7 separate regions of the Homo sapiens genome follow, and regions 1, 2, 3, 4, 6 and 7 are each linked to region 5. Evidence: promoter capture Hi-C in 16 types of primary human blood cells and fetal thymus (Javierre and others, 2016). All regions are on one chromosome and are shown on one strand. The core of a region is centred on a gene start or on the middle of the fragment in contact, and the rest is flanking DNA. Distances in the headings are between cores, read along the strand shown. Region 1 holds the start of SCFD1 (sec1 family domain containing 1). Region 2 overlaps LOC107984674 (a long non-coding RNA gene). Region 3 overlaps MIS18BP1 (MIS18 binding protein 1). Region 4 overlaps PRPF39 (pre-mRNA processing factor 39). Region 5 holds the start of TRAPPC6B (trafficking protein particle complex subunit 6B). Region 6 overlaps FANCM (FA complementation group M). Region 7 overlaps FKBP3 (FKBP prolyl isomerase 3).

What was found. Contacts are between HindIII fragments. The CHiCAGO score rates a contact against its expected background, and 5 or more counts as called.
Region 1: the fragment with the promoter of SCFD1 here is called in contact with the fragment with the promoter of TRAPPC6B in region 5 in 4 of 17 cell types (total B cells, total CD8 T cells, M0 macrophages and 1 more); the score reaches 9.6 in total B cells.
Region 2: a contact is called between a fragment that was not itself captured here and the fragment with the promoter of TRAPPC6B in region 5, in 2 of 17 cell types (naive CD8 T cells and naive B cells). The highest score is 7.4, in naive CD8 T cells.
Region 3: a fragment that was not itself captured here is called in contact with the fragment with the promoter of TRAPPC6B in region 5 in 5 of 17 cell types (M0 macrophages, total B cells, non-activated CD4 T cells and 2 more); the score reaches 12.8 in M0 macrophages.
Region 4: a fragment that was not itself captured here is called in contact with the fragment with the promoter of TRAPPC6B in region 5 in 5 of 17 cell types (naive CD4 T cells, non-activated CD4 T cells, naive CD8 T cells and 2 more); the score reaches 8.5 in naive CD4 T cells.
Region 6: a contact is called between a fragment that was not itself captured here and the fragment with the promoter of TRAPPC6B in region 5, in 2 of 17 cell types (non-activated CD4 T cells and total B cells). The highest score is 8.2, in non-activated CD4 T cells.
Region 7: a fragment that was not itself captured here is called in contact with the fragment with the promoter of TRAPPC6B in region 5 in 8 of 17 cell types (naive B cells, monocytes, erythroblasts and 5 more); the score reaches 9.9 in naive B cells.

What each region holds. Positions count from the first base shown.
Region 1 is chr14:30,620,947-30,623,893 of GRCh38, forward strand. SCFD1 (sec1 family domain containing 1) reads left to right here and starts at 1,373. Exons shown (of 25, transcript NM_016106.4): 1 at 1,373-1,453. The coding sequence starts at 1,393. RefSeq lists enhancers at 707-1,906, 976-1,655. The HindIII fragment of the contact is 1,359 bases long and covers 121-1,479 here.
Region 2 is chr14:45,258,895-45,262,044 of GRCh38, forward strand. LOC107984674 (a long non-coding RNA gene) reads left to right here. Exons shown (of 4, transcript XR_001750746.2): 2 at 2,917-3,050. Among named protein-coding and RNA genes, the nearest start is that of MIS18BP1, 7.3 kb to the left of the region's middle. The HindIII fragment of the contact is 1,506 bases long and covers 893-2,398 here.
Region 3 is chr14:45,240,338-45,243,467 of GRCh38, forward strand. It overlaps MIS18BP1 (MIS18 binding protein 1), which reads right to left. Exons shown (of 17, transcript NM_018353.5): 3 at 2,424-2,537; 4 at 1,697-2,181. Among named protein-coding and RNA genes, the nearest start is that of MIS18BP1, 11 kb to the right of the region's middle. The HindIII fragment of the contact is 547 bases long and covers 1,202-1,748 here.
Region 4 is chr14:45,100,436-45,103,487 of GRCh38, forward strand. It overlaps PRPF39 (pre-mRNA processing factor 39), which reads left to right. Exons shown (of 14, transcript NM_017922.4): 5 at 2,094-2,261. Among named protein-coding and RNA genes, the nearest start is that of SNORD127, 8.9 kb to the right of the region's middle. The HindIII fragment of the contact is 1,421 bases long and covers 931-2,351 here.
Region 5 is chr14:39,168,383-39,171,605 of GRCh38, forward strand. It overlaps TRAPPC6B (trafficking protein particle complex subunit 6B), which reads right to left and starts at 1,951. Exons shown (of 6, transcript NM_001079537.2): 1 at 1,633-1,951. The coding sequence starts at 1,713. RefSeq lists enhancers at 1,409-1,998, 1,758-1,807, 2,589-3,178. The HindIII fragment of the contact is 6,900 bases long and covers 1,732-3,223 here.
Region 6 is chr14:45,144,570-45,147,378 of GRCh38, forward strand. All of the region lies in intron 3 of FANCM (FA complementation group M), which reads left to right. Among named protein-coding and RNA genes, the nearest start is that of FANCM, 10 kb to the left of the region's middle. RefSeq lists enhancers at 285-344, 435-544. The HindIII fragment of the contact is 2,578 bases long and covers 1-2,547 here.
Region 7 is chr14:45,127,562-45,130,543 of GRCh38, forward strand. It overlaps FKBP3 (FKBP prolyl isomerase 3), which reads right to left. Exons shown (of 7, transcript NM_002013.4): 3 at 2,233-2,340. Among named protein-coding and RNA genes, the nearest start is that of FKBP3, 5.4 kb to the right of the region's middle. The HindIII fragment of the contact is 1,105 bases long and covers 1,177-2,281 here.

The sequences.
Region 1 (2,947 bases), core at 123-2,622, 8.5 Mb before region 5:
TAACCTGTTTTAAATGTCACAAAAATAAATTTTTATTAATGAAAAAAGCCAGTGTTTCACACTATAAAACAATATATAATCGTTAGGCTAACCATTTCATTTATATAATTGTGAAAGTTAAGCTTTTGAGGTACAGAGTGATTTCATTTCAGAATTTGGTGCAACTTCATAATGAAGCGTCATCAATGAACTCGGGAAATGAGGTGTCATTGTGTATCCATTTTGGTCATACAGTAAAATCTATGGATTAAGTTAGAAATCATCTATCCCATATATTTTGCGGTCACGTGGCTTCAAGTGTACATTAAACCGCCAGCACAAGACCAGCCTGGCCAACATGGTGAATCCCCGTCTCTACAAAAAAAAAAAAAAAAAATTTAGCCGGGCGTGGTGACCCCTGCCTATAGTCCCAACTAGTGGGCAGTCTGAGGTGGAAGGATAGTTTGGGAGGATCGCTTGAGTCCGGGAGGTCGAGACTACAGTGAGCCGAGATTCTGCCACTGCACTCCAGCCTGAGCGACAGACAGTGAGATACTATCTCAAAAACAAAACAACAACAAAAACCAGCACATCAGCCTGGCCTGATGGTGTGCCCCTGTAGTCCCTAGCTACTTGGGAGACTGAAGCAGGAGGATCGTTTGACCGTCAGAATTTGAGGCTGCAGTGATCCCTGATTGCGCGCTCCAGCCTAGGCAACACACCCCACTACTGCTTGACTTCCTTCCCACGGCAAGGTGATTTTGCAATTACTACAAGGAAAGAGGAGAAATGCTAATTTCTCATTTTGTACCTCCCTGGATCCCGTGTCCATGCCGGCAGAACGCCACCATAAAGCTACACCTTTTTTTTTAAAGAGATGCGACTGAGAAATATGCCAGATCAGAGTAATGCTCCAATGCTTTCCGTTTCTCTGGAGAAAGGAGCAAAGGGAAGACTCCTGCTGCACTGAGAAACGAGAGCTAACGTTAAAATGTTGCCTGTGTTTCAGGAGCTTCATTTACTTCAGTCCTGTGGTCCTTATACTCCTAGAGCATTATCACCCTTTAAGTGCTCTGTAAGTCACCAAACCAACAGTTCAGTAATTAGGTTCTTAGCACTACACGCTCCTACCCTAACAGCTCAATTTAATGTTGCTACCATTTGAGAGAGTGTGGCTTGATTCGGTAGGATAAAAACTCTTAGTATTCGCCTAACATTACGGGCCACTGAATTAACCTGCACCGGGTCTCCCAGTTCTACCGAGAGTGGAGGTCTTCCTGGAGGAGGTGGGGTCCGGAACTCAGGCACACCCTTTGGCCCCGCCCTTCCGGGCTTTGCTTCCGGGGCGGTAAGGGCAGCCACGTCATCCCCCCGCTCCGCTCCCCAGCCGGGCAGTGGCTCGTGGGAGCCAAGATGGCGGCGGCGGCGGCAGCGACAGCAGCAGCAGCAGCCAGTATTCGGGAAAGGCAGACAGGTACTGACTTATTCTCTTCTCCTTGAAGCTTCGTGACTGCCCCGACGACATCCTTCTCCTCTGGTGCGTGCAGCTCAGAGACCGATCTCCAGGAGTTTAATCCAGTCCCTAGAACATCAAGAGCCCCTCCCCTTTGAGTTTTTGGGGAGAAGTTGCCATTAGCTTGAGGACTCGGTTCCTCCTGTGGTGCAGGAGAAGGAGCTTCAGCGGTGGGCGGATTGCTACGGCCCTGCTCTTGTCTCCTTCCTAGTGGGCATCAGAAGGCCATCACAACAAGATCTAGCAGCTGATAGCTTCTTATCTATGTTGCCACCTATGAGGTCTCCGAGTTTCTGTGCGTGGTTCAGTTCTCCTGGTTTTGATTTTTAAGAGAACTCCCATTTTCTGACACTCAGAGAATTTAGGTATTTTCACAGCGGCTTGCTTTGCGCCACTTCTCTACTTCGGACCAGTCTTTTGGGGGTACCTGCAGAAAAATGCCTGGTGATAAACATTTTCTCCTTCAGCTTGCTGGAAGGCATTGAAGAATGGCAAAACAAATGAATTAATAGCTTTCTCATTTTAATTGTTTGACACATTGTTTTAAAATAATATTTTATCTTCAATAGAGCATGTTTATATAGCTTCTATTTATGCAGAGAAATGTAAAAAGGCACATATTCTTCTCTTGAGTTTTGGGTTTTTTTCCGTCTTAGAAATTAGTTTTGCCTTACTTGAAAACTTCTCATGACAACTTGGTTTATACCTGTTAGCTACAAACTAAAGGTTTATACTTGTTAACTAGTTGTCTTAAAAGTTTTCAAGCAATTTATTCTGAGGAGCTAATAGAAATAAGGCATCAAGAATGTGCATACTTGGAATTCTGTTTCCTGAAATTATGCTCTGTTGGATATAAATATGAATAGGAAAATAAATTTATAATTCATATGACCTACAGAAGGGATTTGGGCTGTACTTGATTCCTTCCTTTGGCATTTAAAGAAAAAGTGATAGACTTCAATTTAGTAATGACACACAAAAGATACTGAGTTGCGTTCTGCTTTTCCCAGTAAATAATTTAGTATAACCTATCAGGTGAAGTCAGGCATAACTAAATATAGGGAAGTTCAAATAAGATTTGGGGCATACCTGCCATTCGTTGTATATGTTTAAACAAATGGAAGCTCCATTTGTTTTAATACTGTGTTTCTGATGACTATACTACATATTAAAATAACGTGTCAGTAAAACTGTACCAATACAAGAGAGCTTTTTGAAAAATAAATTTGCGTGGCCGTAAACTTGTATGCAGAAATTTTGTAGATCATTAAAATCTAATCGTTTGTATTTCTGCAGAAATAAACATAGTAAGATTTTACAGAATTACTAGGTAGTGCTAGATCTATTTTTTATCAAATTTTTACTGTCATTGAATTCTGCCTTATTTTCAGAGGAAGGTAAATCCTTGTATATATATTATAATGCAGAATTAGCTATTTCCCTCATGCCTATGGA
Region 2 (3,150 bases), core at 396-2,895, 6.1 Mb after region 5:
GTCTCAGCCTCCCACAATGCTGAGATTACACGTGTGAGCCACCGCGCCTGGTCTTTCTTTTTTCTTTATACTCCTCAGTCTGGATAATTTTGATTGTAGTCAACAGTTGTAAGTTCACTCATTCTTTATTCTGCCTGCTCAAATCTGCTATTGCAACCCTCTAGTAAATTTTCATTTCAGTTATTGTATTTTTCAGCTTCACAGTTTCTACTTGGTTTCTTTTCATAATTTCTATCTTTGTTGATATTTTCTATTGTTAACACATCATTCTTCTGGTTTCCTTTAACTCTTTGTGGTTTCCTTTACCTCTCTGAGCATATTTAAGACAGTTGATTTTAAATTTTTGTCTAATATGTTCAGTGTTTGTGCTTCTTTAGGGAGAGCTTATATTAATTTCTTCTGTAAATAAACCATACTTTCTAGTTTCTTTGCATGCTTCATAATGTTTTTGCTGGAGACTGGACATTTGAATATTAAAATATGCTAACTCTGGACATCAGATTCTTCTCTCTTCTTAGGATTTGTTGTTGTTGTTATTGCTTCCTGTGAAATATAGTTGTTTGCTTGTTTAGTGACTTTTCTATATGATCTTTGTAAAGTCTGTATTCTTTGTCCTGTGTGGTCTCTGATGTCTCTATTCCTTTAGCTTGTGTTCAGGGGTGCTTTGATAGATATTTTCCTGATCACCAGGAGCTATCCTAGAATAGAATAAAGTAATAAAAGAAAAGAAAGAAACAACAACAACAACAACAACAACAAAAAACCCTCTTCCAACCTTTGAAGATTGGCTGTGTGTTAGAGCATGCTTTCAGTACTTAGCGAGGCCATTTATAACTCTGCCTAAGCCTTCACTCCCTGCTTGTGCTGAGCCCAAAGATAAGCCAGAAGTAAAAGCTTAGGGTCTTTTTAGATTGTTTTTGAACATGCATCCTGTCCTAGGCACGTGCATAGCTTCTAAATTCCTCAGTATATGGAGACACTTTTGAATAATTTCCCAGAGAAACTCTACCCAGCTTTTCCTTGCAGGCTTTCACTGCATCTATTATTTGCCTCAATTGTAATTCTTTGTCCTAGGTGGCAGCATGTTGTCCATTTGTCTTACAATGTTTTTGAGGAATGTCTTTTGTGTAGCTGTTTTTTTTTCATGCTGAATAGGTTTCAAGTTATGTAAAACAAAGTCAGGTGCCTTCTGTCATTCTTTCAAGTAGTACTCTCTGATGGTAAATTTTATGTGTCGATTTGACTGCATCATGGATTGCCAGATGTTTGGCTAAACATTTTTTTCTTAGTTTGTCTGTGAGGGTGTTTTTGGATGAGATTCATTTTTGGATTGGACTGAGTAAAGCAGATTGCTCTTCTCAGCATGGATGAGCCTCATCCAGTCTGTTGAAGGCCTTAATAAAATAAAAGGCTGAGTAAGAAAGAATTCTTTCTTTTGGCCAGAATATGTTTGAGCTAGGACTTTAGTCTTCTGCCTTTGGACTCATTCTTGGACTTGAACTTACAGCATTTGTTCTCCTGTTTCTCAGGCCTTCGTACTTGGTGATATGGTTTGGCTGTGTCCCCATCAAAATCTCATCTTGTATTGTCATTCTCATAATCCCCACATGTCATGGGAGGGACCTGATGGGAGGTAATTGAATCATGGGGGCGGTTACCCCCATGCTTGTTCTTGTGATAGTGAGTTCTCATGAGAGCCAATGGTTTTATAAGGGCTCTTCTCACTTTTGCTCAGCACTTCTCCTTGCCACTGCCATGTGAAGAAGGATGTGTTTGCTTCCCATTCCACCATGATTGTAAGTTTCCTGAGGCCTCTCCAGCCATGCTGACCTGTGAGTCAATTAAACCCCTTTCCTTTATAAATTACCCAGTTTTGGGTATATCTTTATTAGCATTGTGAGAACAGACTAATACACTTGGACTGGAACTATACCATTGACTCTCCTGGGTCACTAGTTTACTGATGCAGATCTTGGGTTTCTCAACCTTCAATACTTCAATGAGCCAATTCCTTGTAGTAAATCAATCTCTTTCTCTTTTTTTTATTCTCTCTCTCTTTCTCTCTCTCTCTCTCTCATTCCCTCTTTCCTGTTGGTTGTGTTTCTCTGGAGAATCCAGACTAATACACTGCCAAATAAGTTAGAACAGACAAACACAATTCTCTAAGCATAAGGTCTGTGCTCCCTCCACAACCAGGGACCAAGGTCCCACACTGGAAATGGGTGCTGTCTTCAAGACTGCTGCCAAAGGTGCTGAGATGCTGAAGAAAGCAAGCTGAAAAATCCCGTTCTTCAGAAAGAAACATTTAATAGGACTTATGAACAGAAGCAATGTCTTGGGTGGGCATGAGATGGTGGATCCCTCTACCTGCCCTCCAGAAAATATCCTTTGTAAAGCAAGCTTTTAGGGTAAAGATTTGTGTAGCTTGTCATGCTTCAGACTTTCTTGTGAAACGTGACTACTGGGGAGATTAGATAAGCATCTTTATTTATGCTACAGGGATTGTTTATTTATGAGACGTTTTCCATGTTACAGGCATTCTTAAAGACCTTGCTGCAGGAGTCATCATGGTCATCATGGTAGTTTCACTTCAAGGTGGCATCACTCTTGTCATGCAACAGGCTCTTTTCCTATGGGGGGGGTCAATAAGGGCAATCAAAAATGCTGCAAAGCTTTTGTACAAGAACATTTCCTCTTTTAAATTTTTTAATTGACAAATAGTTATTGTACATGTTCATGGGGTACATGGTGATGTTTTTATACATGTAATGCTTGGTGATCAGATCTGGTTAATTAGCATATCCATGATCTCAAACATTTATCTTCTTCTGGTGTTGGAAACATTCAGTGTCTTTTTTTTGCTGTTTGAAATTATATTTATTTTTTTTTCTTTTTTCTTTTTTCTTTTTGAGACAGGGTCTCTGTCGCCCAAGCTAGAGTGTGGTAGCACAATCTTGGCTCACTACAGTCTCTGCCTCCCAGGCTCAAAGGATCCTTCCATCTCAGCCTCAGGATTAGCTGGGACAACAGGCACATACCATCATGCCCAGGTAAATTTTGTATTTTTTGGTAGAGATGGGATTTCATCATGTTGCCTAGGCTGGTCTCTAATTTCCAGGCTCCAGCGATCCACCCTCCTCAGCCTCCCAG
Region 3 (3,130 bases), core at 225-2,724, 6.1 Mb after region 5:
CGTAACACTTCTTTAGAAAGACATTTTGGGGCCAGGCGTGGTGGCTCACACCTGTAATCATTTCCTTTTACTTTAGGTGGTAAGGACATTGCCCTTTCAATTGCCCCCTCAATTTTCTCCCTACCTACACGCACTCTCTAGGCTGTATTTCCAGTGTCATAGTTTTAAATTCCATCTCTATGCTGATAGCTCTCCAATATGTTTCCAGCACAGAATATTCTTCTCAACTCCAACCATGAATACACAGACCTCTTTCAAATGTCTTGCTATATAAGGGAAACAAAAAGTAGTGTAGCAGCTGGAGTTGGACAGGGGATAAAGGAAAGATGGGCCTTTGTTTGCATGTTTTTAAAAAATGCAGGCCATGTTTCAACATGTTTATATGTTAATGAGAATAATCCAAAAAAAAAAAAATTTAGCCGGGCATGGCAGCATGTGCCTGTAGTCCCAGCCACTCAGGAGGCTGAGGCAGGAGATTTGCATGAACCTGGAAGGCGGAGGTTGCAATGAGCTGAGATTGTGCCACTGCACTCCAGCCTGGGTGACAGAGTGAGACTCTGTCTCCAAAATAAATAAATAAATAGATAGATAAATAAATAAAGTTTAAATATTTTCCAATAATGGGATTTCTAGCGAATATATTGAGATATAAAACCATAACTGGTATGTCACTCTTTAAAATTTAGATGGCTACAAGGGAGGCTTAAGTGGGAGGATTGCTTGAGCCCAAAAGGCTGGCCTGGGCAACAGAGTAAGGCCTCATTTAAAAAATTAATTATTAATTAAAATTTAGATGGAATTTATACATGATCTCAACTTGATAACCACCATCATACATTTAAGAATTAATGGCTGGATGCAGTGGCTCACGCCTCTAATCCCGGCACTTTGGGAGGCCGAGGCGGGAGGATCACTTGAGGTCAGGAGTCAGAGACCAGCTTGGCCAGCACGGTAAAACCCCGTCTCTACTAAAAACACAAAAATTAGCTGGGCATGGTGGCAGGCGCCTGTAATCCCAGCTACTCAGGAGGGTGAAGTAGGAGAATCGCTTGAACCCAGGAAGTGGAGGTTGCAGTGAGCCAAGACCACGCCATTGTGCTCCAGCCTGGGTGACAGAGGAAGACTCCAGCTCAAAAATAATTAATTAATTAATGGGCAAACCTCTAACAATTGGAAATTTTACACTGCATCTTCCTCCTTAAGCTTGTATTTCCATTCCACTTCCTTCAGAGAATTTGTCCTAATGTAACAGTTTAATGCTCTAAAGTCTTTCATTGATTACTCTGTATTTAATTTGGGAAAAATTCTCAAATCTTCAGATGCTACAGTTCCTTTCTATCTTAATTAATCTAACTATTTTAATAGTACTGTAAGTATCAGAAAAAAAAGAGTAGGAATGAATTCAATGTTCATCACCAAAAGGAACAAGTAAATTATTGAAGACTACACAACTAGTAATAGAGCAAAATAAGACTTAACATGTGGGTCTTCTTACATTCAACTCACTGTTCTTTTCACTATGTCACACTGTCACTGCAGTAAATAATAAAACATGATAATGAAGACACTGTTAATAATGAAGCATACAGGTTCAAATCCTAGCTAGAAAAAAAATAATGAGAGAACATTAAAAGCTCAAGCTCTTGAAGAACGGGGTAAAAATAGAAATAAATATCTGTCTTAAAAGTTTTCCCACCTGATTTTTTTTAAGTCCATTTGTAACAGTTTGAAATATTCTTGGAGGAGAAAGCTTTGAAATATTTCTTTTTGACCTCCGAGGTATTGTTATATGAAGTCTTGGTGTTGCAAGTACAATTTTACATGTATCTTTCATGGAACCTGGAAGACCTGTCTCTCCAGGCACTGTTTTTCCATTTCCTTCCTTAACTTTCTGTTGCGAAGTCCCTTCTGTTGTCCTCTCACTATCAGAAACCATTAACAGGCTGCCATTTTTAATAGGAATACAATTAGTACTGAGAGTCTCAGCATTAGTATTTTGAAATTGTTCATCAGCAGAATCAACGCTTTCTAAAACAAACGTGTCCTTTTTGGATTTAGTGGTTGCAACTATACTCTCCTTTGAGTGAAAAATTTGTTTAGCCAACTGAGCTCTAGTTAATGTCTTGTTTCGGGCTTCTACAGCCAAAAAATTTTCCTGTTCTTGGTTCAGAGTTGGAAGTTCTGCAAAAAATACAAAACAAAACAAAACAAAACAATTATAGAAGGATCACAGGAAATTAAAAGAGATAAATTTAGGTTAGGAACGTTCCACCCTCCTGCCCAGTCTTTCTCTGAGTGTCTCTTTTACGATTCAAGCTTTTGTCCACAGCTAAAGTTTAATGCCCACACAAGGAAAGTAATTACCTAGAACATTTAACAATATACTTAAGTAACAAACTGAAAACAAACCAAAAATAGTTTACCGTAAGTTAAATTGTGCAGTGGTGCTTTCTTTTCCTGCTGGCACTGAATCTTTTGTTTGACCGGGAGGAAAATATCATTATTTGATGATTCTAGAGGAACTCCTTGGACTGAGGCTAAGGTTTTATTTTTTAAAGAAAGAAGAAGTTGAATTGTATTAGTCACTAAGAAAAAAACAGCTTTTAAAATTCTTGAAATAAAGACACTTAGATTTAGTAATGATCAGACCAGTATAGTACTTTTGCAATATATGACAGTTACATATATTTTTATATTTTTGGCTGTATTATCTTCTCATACCTTTACCCCATTCTCTATACCAACATTACGGTGAGGAAGAATTTTTTAAAACCTTCTCTGAACACAACCCGCCAGCTCTAGACAAAAGTATTGGACTTAGAAACCTAGAGATCTGAAATTCTGGTGCTGCCACAAATTGGATATGTATATGTTAAGATTACAATATAAAGTTTCACCCAGTCTTGAAAATTCCGATTCTGTTTCTGGTTGCTGTGAATTTCTAAAGCATGAAAGATAGTCGAAGAATTGTAACTTATTCTTTAAAAATTAAAATGTTGAGATGCAACAGCAGACTCAGCCATAATTTATATCCTTTAGACAATTTTTAGTAGGCCTTCAAATGCTCAGAAGTTGTAGGTTTCTCAACTAGATAAATAAGGACTAATAGCACTGCTTGCATCTTATTCTG
Region 4 (3,052 bases), core at 391-2,890, 5.9 Mb after region 5:
TTTATTTACTTGGGGAATGGACACCTAGCTTCTGAAATCCCCATAGCTGGGCGGGAAAGTTGAAGATTTCTCACGATTCATTAAGTATACCTTCTTCTAAACGTTCTGTCTTCATTTCATTACCTTCTTGTCTTCTTCCCCTTTTCTCCATACTTTTTTCAGTGTCTGGTTAATTTTCTGAATCATTTGGGGTTCTGTAGGGACAGTAACATCTATTTTATTCTTTTGAAAACCTTACACCAAATATGCACATGCATGCATGCACAGACACACATGCTCTTCAATCTTTTATTTCTATATTAAACATATTTCCTCCAATGTTGGTATGTTTTTAACTTTGTTTATGGTGTCTTTTATCATATGGAGTTTTATTTTTCCTTAATGTGCTTCTGTTTTAATTCTTACTGGTTCCTGAGTTTTGTGCCTATTTTACCAAAAATATATAAATCCTGTATTTTGTTCTAACTTTTCTATAGTTTTTTGCTTATTCATTTATCTGAATTTAATTTCTATCTGTCGTGAGATAGACATTAGCCTTTTATATACTCCCACTGTTGAATTAAAGTATCTCCTATATCATACACCAAATACTCACACACATTGATCTCTTTTTTGTTTTCTTGGCTCTGTACTGTTCATCCATTTTTCTGTTACCTGGCCAGTGCCAAACGTGTAATTACTATAGCTTCCTAGTTTCTTATATTATCTTTCAGGAAAATGCCTGCTGCATTATCCTTTTACAAAGTCATTTTGCATTTTTGTATTCTAGATGAATAGTAGAATTTGATTTTTTCTTGTTCCACTAAACATTTTTTAGCGCTTTATTGAAATTGTGTTAAAATTGTGGTTTAACTTAGGGGAGTGTAGTTTTATACTTTTTAAAAATCTCTCTTGATTCTAAGATACTTATCTTGAAAGTATGTATCTAAAAGCTTTATCCCATTGGAGTATTAAATCCAGTGATTAAAATTGCTTACAGAAATCTCTTGACATGACTAGGTATTTTAAAATACTTTGTAACAAACTTTTTTTTTTTCTTTGGAGACAGAGTCTTGCTCTGTCATCCAGGCTGGAGTGCAGTGTTGAGTGGTGCAATTTCAGCTCACTGCCACTTTCGCCTCCCAGGTTCAAGTGATTCTCATGCCTCAGACTCCCGAGTAGCTCGGATTACAGATGTGCACCACAACGCCTGGCTAATTTTTGTATTTTTAGTAGAGATGGGGTTTCGCCGTGTTGGCAAGGCTGGTCTCAAACTCCTGGCCTCATGTGCTGGAATTACAGGTGTGAGCCATCGTGCCCAGCCTGTGATAAAACTTTAATGATAGAATTTTAGAATTGAGAGGGGCTTTTGAGAGGTTTAAAGTATATGTATACTTTTTTTTTTTTTTTGAGACAGAGTCGCGCTCTGTCGCCCAGTCTGGAGTGCAGTGGTGCAATCTTGGCTCATTGCAACCTCCGCCTGCCGGGTTCAAGCAATTCTCCTGCCTCAGCCTCCCAAGTAGCTGGGACTACAGGCATGTGCCACCATGCCTGGCTAATTTTTTGTATTTTTGTAGAGATGGGGTTTCACCATGTTGGCCATGTTGATCTTGAACTCCTGACCTAAGGTGATCCTCCCGCCTCAGCCTCCCTAAGTGCTGCGATTACAGGCATGAGCCTGTAATCACGCCTGTAACCATTTCACCATGCCTCATGAAAATATTCTTAAATTGAGATAAAATTTGCCTCTCTTTAACTTCCTACTTGTTTTAATTTTGTCTTCTGTCATAAATCAATCTATACAATAGACATTTCAGATTTAACAAATACTTACATGTCTACTCTTACCTATTTGCAATGTGTACATTTTGTATTTAATTTTCTATTTGATAAAGTTACATAAAAAGTACATTTATCTATTCTCTTTGTTTTCTCACTCTTTTTAAGCAGCTGTTGTATGCTTTCTGTTATTCTGTCTACCCTTTAATCCCTACTTGCATAGGAAGCAGTTGAATATAATTTTTGAAGTTAGCATTATCTTCTAAATTTAGAAATAATATTTTAAAAGTGATTTTATCTTGGAAAGATAACTTAAGAGTAATTTAATTTTTCAGAACTTTTGAGCATGCTGTTCTAGCTGCAGGAACAGATTTCCGTTCTGACAGACTGTGGGAAATGTATATAAACTGGGAAAATGAGCAGGGAAACCTGAGAGAAGTTACAGCTATATATGATCGTATTCTTGGTATTCCAACACAGCTGTATAGTCATCATTTTCAGAGGTAGGTGGGAAATTCTGATCATTGAAACATCTTTGATTACTCAGATAGTTGGTAATATTAAGTATTATAATTATCTTGGAATGTTATGTAAGCTTTTATTATGTGGAAAGAGGAATAAATTTTGTTGCTAATCACAACCTACATGCTTGCTTTTGACATTTTTTCATATGCCTTATGAAATGTTTAGAAATTTTACTGTTTTTAGATAGAAGTTTCTCCTTATTCATTTTAATGGATAAAGAGAAACAGGAATTCTGTCTTGTCTAAGGTAGTTCAGAGTAATGAAGGAATGAGAAAATAGTACCTAAGTTGAGTTATTTATTTATGGCATTAAATTGACACAGTGCCTGGCACATGATAGATGCTTATTTTTTTTGAAACTTAATGATTTGCTAAATATACATTATTGTGATTGCTATAACACCTTATATCCAAAACAGTGAAGGATGCATTTTATATAGTAAGTAGTATCTATTTTCAAACACTCAGGTATCATTCCATTTTAATTTTCTAAAATGATTTTTCTGTTACAATTGGTATCCTTTTATTTTAATGATTACTGTTAAAACAACTAATTCTGTGTCATTATTTTTGTGTTCTGTTTTCTGCTTTATTCAGAGTATCCCATAAATAAGGATCCAGAAAGTCTTTCTGAACGAGTATGAGGACTGTGTCTTTGCTTTTAAATTGGCATGTTTTCTATTTTTTGTTATAATTTTTATGAGTAGTATTGTATAAACTTAGTATTTTCTATTTTTTGTTATAATTTTTATGAGTAGTATTGTATAAAC
Region 5 (3,223 bases), core at 701-3,200:
AGTAAACCTTGAGGTCAATAATAAAGTCAGAAGTTTGTGACTTGAAAAAAATCTCTATTATAGATGGGTCATTTGAATAAGAATAGAATTCGCTTCATTTCCAATAACCTTCCAAATGTATCCTGCCTATCCTTCTTGTGCAAACTGGCAGTACCTTTTTTTGGATGTCATACAGGCACCTCAAAAGTTCAACCTGCCCCGAAATAACTCATTATCTTACCTCCTTATTTTTTTCTTCTCCTTTATTTCCTTTTCTGATTAATAGTACCACCATCCAACCCAGCTGCTCAAGCTGAAAACCTGACGATAATTTTCAACTCCCACTCCCATCCTTAAACAAGGCCTACAGAATTCCACTTTCTAACTTTCAAATCTGTTATCTCCTTTTCTCACTATCCCTGTCTTAATCCAGATCTTCATCTCCTCCTGCAGTGACTCCCGTAATAAAGGATTTTCCCCCTACAAGGATCTTCCCTCTCTAGCCCAAACACTGGATTACTTTTCTAAAATGCAAATGGTCCACATCATTCCCTTCCTTAAAAATATTCCCTCGAAAAGATCCGAATTCTTTAATTACACAAAGCTTTCTAACTTCACCTCTCAATTCTTCTCACTCTCTATTCAGTCTAGTCCAAAGAAATGCTTAAGTGTATTTAAATCCACCACTCTTTCATACCTCTACCACTTTATCTTTGCCTAGGATACATTTCCTATCCCCACTCTCCACTCATTTTTTATCAATAGCATTAAAGAAAGGGCTCCTGACTTGAGCATGACTTTGGAGTATTTCTAAAATCCGTTACAACTCCATGATTCTACCAGCCAATACTCAGTGTTAACTATTCATTAAATCACTATTCCCTAAATACTGTGAGGCAGGAGTATTATTTTATTTAATTTATCTAGCAGTGTCAGCAGTGACAGGCCCACAATGATTGAATAAGGACTCCCACATATTAGAAGTAACCGCTACATACTATCACATTTCGGATTAAATTAGATTAAAAAAAAATCTCTACAAGGATGGGGCCATTGTTTCATTCACTACTATATCCCTGGCACCTAGAAATCGCTCTGACATAAGGGCACTAAATAAATACTTTCTGAAATAATTAATTTAAATTATGTTCCCTAATTATCCTAACGCCTGCAAACTTTCCTTTGCAAACTCAACCTTCATTAGGCTTCAGGTCTCAAGTTGTGTGGAGTTGTACTGAGCATTAGGAATGAGGAAGGAGGGACAGGCTTCTCAGGTTGGCACAGGTCTGTCCAGTGCATGGCTCAAGTGCTGGAAGTGCCAGCAAAACTAAGTAGGCTCTGCAGTTAACCCTCTCGTAAATAATGGCAGGGACAACACTAAAAGTACCAAAATCTGTGGCGTGCAAGACAAACGTACGGGAATAGACAAAAGAGAATCAAATAGAAGAAGATACGAAAGAGAAAACGATGAAAGATGACGGTTCAAAGGAGACAACTGACAGGTTCTAGGGTTTAGGACACCTGGAGGTGGACCATTTTGTGTACACCTCGGGAGGCGTCGGGTGGCGATGGGACAGGGGTTGAAGGAAAGCACTGAGGGGAAACAAGGTGTGTCACCGCAAAAGGACCTCAAGGTTGTGTGGCAGCACTCACCACCTCCCCCTGCTCCGCGGACTTGTACACTCCAGACACCATCTCGTTATGGAGAAGCAAAAACAACGCCTCATCCGCCATTTCCTGCTAATTCTTCCAAGCTTCGAGTTTTGGCTCCCGTTTGAGCTGGTCTGGGGGTTCCAGCTCGCGCCTCAGCGACTTCGCCGGCGCCGCGGCTCCGTCAGGCCGCCATTCTATCCCTGTGGCTAAGAGACCGAGGTATTCACACGACTTCCCAAAGGCTGGTACTGAAATGAGTCTGGTACTGGAGAGAGCCCACACTTCGGGGCTACCAAATCCTAGGGCCGAACTAAAGTCTGACGGGAGCTCTAACCAAAGCCAACCAGCTGAGATGCGATCCGGCCGCTGGGCGGGGGCGAAAAAAACAACTTCCGGTCCCCTCTACCCCGGCATTCGGCCAGCTCTATGATCACTGAGTTCCTCTCTCCCAAGCCCGGAGAGGCCAGCGCCCAGATATGAGGAAGGTTCCCCTCTCACCACGATGTCGGGGGCAGAGCAAGATAAAATAAGACCTAAAGCTCCCGCCTGGCCCGGGCGCGGTGGCTCACGCCTGTAATCCCAGCACTTTGGGTGGCGGAGGCGGGTGGATCACATGAGGTCGGAAGTTCGAACCAGCCTGAGAAACCCCGTCTCTACTATAAGTACAAAATTAGCGGGGCCTGGTGGTGCATGCCTGTAATCCCAGCTACTCGGGAGTCTGAGGCAGGAGAATCGCTTGAACTCGGGAGGCGGAGGTTGCGGTGAGCTGAGATCGCGCCACTGCACTCCAGCCTGGGCAACAAGAGTGAAACTCCGTCTCAAAAAAAAAAAAAAAAAAAGAGCTCCCGCGGCCACCTCCTTGTTAATTAGCAATAGAAGTTAAAAAAATTCTTTTGGCTTCATCAAAAGCATCCACTTCCTGCCATATGTTCTTCAAATATGAAAAGTTGTAGAAAGAGTTTAAAATATACGTTTTCACAGTGCAAATTTTTTAAATATTGAAAAGTTATCCCAATTCCTATTGAATTAAGCCCGGGTATACAAAAAGAATTAGAGCCATTTTGACCACCAGGAATTTTCCTGTTAGTGGGGTGCAAGGGACAAGGGAAGTGGAGCAAACGAAAAACAAGATACACTTGAACCGGAAAATACAGACTAATCAGAGGATTAGGTGAAAAGTGCTATAGAATTCAGAAAAGCGATGTCACTGCAGGATGGAGTTGCTAATAATCTACAGCAGTGTGAGACAACTGTAGGAATTGTCCCACTGCATGTGCAAATAAATACACATGCTACATCATAGTATGTACATCTTAAATTTGGCAAATTCAACCGTAAGCATGTTGCTTAGCCTGTGATTAGTTCTTCCATTGGTAATTCACAAAACAAAATTTTTCCCCAATTGTCCCTGTTGTTTTCCCCCAAATTAACATACCGCAAGGTGGCTCATGCCTGTAAAATCCAGCACTTTGGGAGGCCGAGGCACGGGGGGTGGGGGGGATCACGAGGTCATGAGTTTTGAGAGCAGCCTGGCCAACATGGTGAAAACCCGTCTCCACTAAAAATACAAAAATTAGCCGGGCGTGGTGAC
Region 6 (2,809 bases), core at 9-2,508, 6.0 Mb after region 5:
TCTCACTCTTTCTTTCCACAGGCAGAGGAGCCTCTCCCCATGGTCACCACTACCATAGGCCCATGAGGTGTACTGCCAGTCTACTGCTGATTTTCATTTAAGGCCCAAGGACTCTTCAGTCAGCTTGTGCTGAATGCTGCCAGGCCTGGGACTCACCCTTCAGAGAAGTGGGTTCCCCTCTGGCCTGGGACAGTTTCAGAAATGCTGTTCAAGAGTCAAGGCCTGGAATCAGGTCCCCAAGAGCCCATTTGTTGCCCTTCCCCACTGTGGCTGAGCTGGTACCTGAGGTGTAAGACAAAGTCTCCTTTACTTCTGCTTTTCTCAAGCAGAAGTTTCTCATCATAGCCATCATTGCTAGAGATGTGCTGGGTTTCACTGGAAGCCAGCATGTCTAAGAGTCTCACCCAAGGCCCATGACATATTACCTGGGTATTGCTGATGGTTATTTAGGGCCCAAGGGCTCTTTAGTCAGCAGGTAATGAATCTTGCCAGGACTGTGTTCTTCCCTTCAAGGTAGCGGGTTTCCTTCTGGCCCAGGGTACGTCTAGAAAAGTTGTCAGGGAGCTAGGGTCAGGAACGGAGACCTCATGACTCTGCCCTGTCCTGTTGTGGCTGAGCTGATATCCAGGATGCAAGACAAAGTCCTCTTTACTCTTCCCTCTTTTTTCCTCAAGCAGAAGGAAGGAGTCACTTTCGTTTATGTGAGCTGCCCAGACTGGGGTTGAATGAAGGGTGGTGCAATCACTCCTTTAACTGTCCCACCTGGTGTCTCACTAGGTCACGTGCCCCCCATGTTCATCGTCTCCAGAGCATTTGCAGGAACTTAAGTTCCAACCACTAGGATGGGGAATTCCCTTCTAGCTAGGGCTGGTCTAAATTCTCCTTCTGTGGTGGCATTGACTGAGTTCCACCTGGTTTTGCTTTTCACTGTGACAGAGCAACACTTAGTTCAATGCACAGTCTCCCAGAAACTGCACTCTCCTTCCCCCAGGTTCTTAGATTCTTTCTCCACACCACAGGGCCTCTGGGGGATGAGGGAGGGGTGGTGTCCATGATTCAAGATTGTGTTTCCTGGCTGAGCGTGGTGGCTCACACCTGTAATCCCAGCACTTTGGGAGGCCAAGGCAGGCGGATCAGGAGGTCAGGAGATCGAGACCACACTGGCTAACACAGTGAAACCCCGTCTCTACTAAAAAATACAAAAAAATGGCCGGGCGCGGTGGCTCACGCCTGTAATCCCAGCACTTTGGGAGGCCGAGGCGGGCGGATCACGAGGTCAGGAGATCGAGACCATCCCGGCTAAAACGGTGAAACCCCGTCTCTACTAAAAATACAAAAAATTAGCCGGGCGTAGTGGCGGGCGCCTGTAGTCCCAGCTACTTGGGAGGCTGAGGCAGGAGAATGGCGTGAACCCGGGAGGCGGAGCTTGCAGTGAGCCGAGATCCCGCCACTGCACTCCAGCCTGGGCCACAGAGCGAGACTCCGTCTCAAAAAAAAAAAAAGAAAAAAAAAATACAAAATATTAGCCGGGCGTGGTGGTGGGCACCTGTAGTCCCAGCTACTCGGGAGGCTGAGGCAGGAGAATGGCGTGAACCCGGGAGGCAGAGCTTGCAGTGAGCCGAGATCATGGCATGGCACTCCAGCCTGGGTGACAGAGTGAGACTCCGTCTGAAAAAAAAAAAAAAAAAAAGGATTGTGTTTCCTACCTCAAAGTGCCTCTTTTAGCAATATGAAGTGAATACCAGGTACTGTGATTGCTCACTTGATTTTTGGTTCTTATGAAGGTGCTTTTTTTGTGTAGATAGTTGTCAAATTTGATGTTCTGTGTGGGCGATTATCTGTATTTCCATCTTGCTCCATGCTTCCAATGATAGCTTTTAACTCTTGCAAGCTGCAAGACTTTTTTCTTCTATCCTTTTTTTTGATGAGCTTAGAAATTCTATCCTATCTCTGGTTTTCTCCCTGACCTCGTTTAAACATTCATGTTTTTCAGTCAGCTTAAAAATGTCATCCCCCTTTGGGAGGCCGAGGCGGGTGGATCACGAAGTCAGGATATCGAAACCATCCTGGCCAACATGGTGAAACCCCGTCTCTACTAAAAAAAATACAAAAAATTAGCCGGGCATGGTGGTGGGCACCTGTAGTCCCAGCTACTCGGGAGGCTGAGGCGCAAGAATGGCGTGAACCTGGGAGGCGGAGCTTGCAGTGAGCCGAGATCGCGCCACTGCATTCCAGCCTGGGCGACAGAGCAAGACTCTGTCTCAAAAAAAAAAAAAAAAAAAAAAAAAAGTCATCCCTTCAGAAAGGTCTATTCTAACTAAGCTATCTTGTCAGTGTTCCTTATTTTGTTATTTTCTTCTTAACATTTGTGATAATTGGTCATTCTTTTGCGTATTGATTATTTTGGTCTTTCAGCGCCAGTAAAATATCAGCTACATGAATGTAGGGATTATGCCGATTTTGGTCGTTTCTCTGTCATTAACTCAATACCTGGCATGTGGGAGTTACTCATGTATTTCTTTCATGAATGAACTATTAAAAGCAATAAGCTTAATTTTATAAAATGGTCACAAATGTATTCTAGATTTTGAATACGTATAGGCCGCCAGTGATTATGGTGTGCCGTATTGGGCACTGCGCCAGGTATTGGGAATACCAAGATATGATTCTTGCCCCAGGCTGTTCCCCGCCCCCCCCAAAACCAAGCCCTCAAAGCTTTCTTTTTTTCTTTTCTTTTTCTTTCTTTCTTTTTTTTTTGGAGACAGGGTCTTGCCCTGTCACCCAGGCTGGAATACAGTCGCAACTGTAG
Region 7 (2,982 bases), core at 479-2,978, 6.0 Mb after region 5:
AGAAACGTCTAAATTACACCTTTGAAACTGAGTATATATTTTATTCTTAAAGCACATTTCAGTTCAAAGTAGCTAAAGCACTCTGTAGCCACATATTGTTAGTAACTACCATACTGAACGGGGCAATTCTAGACAACACTCAATTACTGAAGATTTTTCAGCAGGGTGTGGTTTGCAAAGTATTGTTTTAGAAATCTTATTAGAATACCCATTTTGTTGCTGACTGGATAAAGAAAGAGAAGGGAGGCAAGAAATGAACAACGTTTTTAACATTCTGGGTATGAGGCCTTGCTTCGAATGCTTGAAAATGGAAAAGGAATGAACGTTTAAAATAAAAGGAAGATGTTTGAGAGCATTAGTCCTGAAGGAGACATGAGAAAGAAAAAGGGACGCAAAGATTCAGAGAAATTTTAAGCTCAGAAGAAGGGAATGGCAATGGCTAGACATTCACATTTTGGCACTACAGAACACAGGAGCATATAATGAGAAGGGAGTCCAGGGGCAGTGGCTCACGCCTGTAATCCCAACACTTTGGAAGGCCTAGGTGGGCGGATAACTTGAGGTCAGGAGTTCAAGACCAGCCCAGCCAACATGGAGAAACTGCGTCTCTATTAAAAATACAAAAATCAGCTGGGCATGGTGGCGCCTGCCTGGAGTCCCAGCTACTGGGGAGGCTGAGGCAGGAGAATCACTTGAACCCAGGAGGGGGAGGTTGCTGTGAACCAAGATGGCACCACTGCACTCCAGCCTGGGTGAGACTTTGTCTCAAAGACAAAAACAAAAACAAAAAAAGAGAAAGGAGTAAGAAGGGACTGAGAATTTGTGAGAAAATGTCAAATACTTTATGTGAGCAATGAGCAATGTGATGGAGAACTGGGCAAAGGATAGTATAAATGTTGTTGAGTAGCAATGAAACTAGAAAACATGCTTGGCTAATATTAAGCATGAATTTATACCAGGCTCAATAAAAGGTTTTATGATTATATGTTTATAATGCCTGCTCTCCAGTCCCAAAGCATGAAGACAGAGAGTAGACAACGAGGGTTAGCAAGGAAATGGACAAGAGGCTTTTGAATGTAGGACGCTAGGAAAACAGTCACAGTACATAAATGGGCTCAAGCTGGCCAGTTAAACGAAGAGGTTTTAAATAAAATGATAGAGTTTAGGACCCTCATAAGCTTGCTCTAGATTGTCTCTAGCTCTTATGAATTTACCTTTTATTTTCTTAACTCCTTAATGAAATATTATCTGTCTCCTAAAACCATCCTCATTCTAATTTCCTGGAGGGTGAACTATGTTGCCAGTTGCTTCTGAAACCCTTCAATAATAATTGCTCCATTTACCTTAGTAGCTACTCAATAGATATAACATTTATTAAATATTAATTGTGATAAACTTTAAAACTGCTTTGTGTGCACATATACCTATAAACATTAATTTGTGCTTTTTAGCCAATAGGAAAAGATCATGCAAAATTAACTAGCTTTAATCAAATAAACATCTATAATTGTATAACTGAACTTACACTTTCCACAAATACCCAAAAGCTACACTGTCATCAATAGCCTCACCTCTTTACAAGAACTAAAAATAGATTATTATCACTGATACTAAGACTGCTGGCAATGAGTGAGCTTAGATAGTAAGGTATTATCAGAAATGACAAGATTATAATCAATTCAGCTCTGCTAAGTCAGTTCTTAGTAGCTGATCTTAGCTCTACTAAGGCTGTCAATTTGCAGGAATGAATTAATCTGGTTCTTCAAACCTTTGTACCAAAGTATAAAACCTGAGTTGGGAAAACTGAGACAGATGAACCCACATCCTGCAGCCAAGCCTGGATTATTTCTATTGCCAGGGACACCATGTACATTAGAAAAAGCTAAAAATAATCAAAAGAAAATGTATTTCACTTAGTCCAACTTGGCTATAGAATCAAGGCCTTAAAATAGCTTTGAAAGCTCAGAAGGTCTGGACAGATGTGGAGGCGATATTAAATACAATATCAGAAGTGTTTCACAGAATAGGCTAATAACTGTAAAGCACTAGTTCTTAGGATTATTTCTGTCCCAGTACACCTAAGGGAAATGGCCCACTACATTAAGTGTTTGGCTCATTGAAAGTGGTCGTATTCAACCACCCTTCACTATGAGAAGTTAGTGCAAATAATAAAGAAATAAATACAATTTCTAGACTCCACATGATAAAATAAAAAAATAATTATATACAGACCTCATCCAGGGTCTCTTCAGACTTGGTTTCTTTGGGTTTATCTTCATTAAGCTTCACATTTTTTACTTGCTCAGACACTTTACTTATACTTTCAGTACCCTTAAAACGCTGTAAGGAAAATGTTGTAACATCATACCCAGGACAGGCTAAAACCAAGAAGCAACATCAAGATTTTCAGCCTCTCAATTAAATGAACATCTGCATAATAAATATAGGTTGTATAACACAATTGTGAATAAATGGTCTAAGGAAACGAAGAGCAAAGAAAGAATTTTGCTCATAATTTATTTTTAAACAATAAATGATTACCCTCAAACCAGCTTACAATATAAATTCTGAAATGAGAACCATGACCTTAGAAAGGCCAACTCATACCCAGAGATATAAGCACTATTCAAATAACTCCTAAATAAAGATTTCTTTCCTGTGGAAGATATTCATTTCATAGTAAACAAATGTGGGAGAATGTCTTAAAATGTATTTTTGTAAAGCTCAGCCTAAATCTAAACCAGACTTTAAATTCATTAGTGAAATGGAAACTTATTTTCAATATAACATTTAACATATATAATAAAACAACAACAAAATACATTTAATATACACCATATGCTAAAGTAATACGGTAATACCACTGACCTAATGAATTTATAACTTCAGTGGACTTAAGAATTTGTTGTCTCAATTTAAGCTACAAAATCCAGACCCTTTGAAAATACTGAAACATTCTGCCATACTGCAGATTAGCCTTGC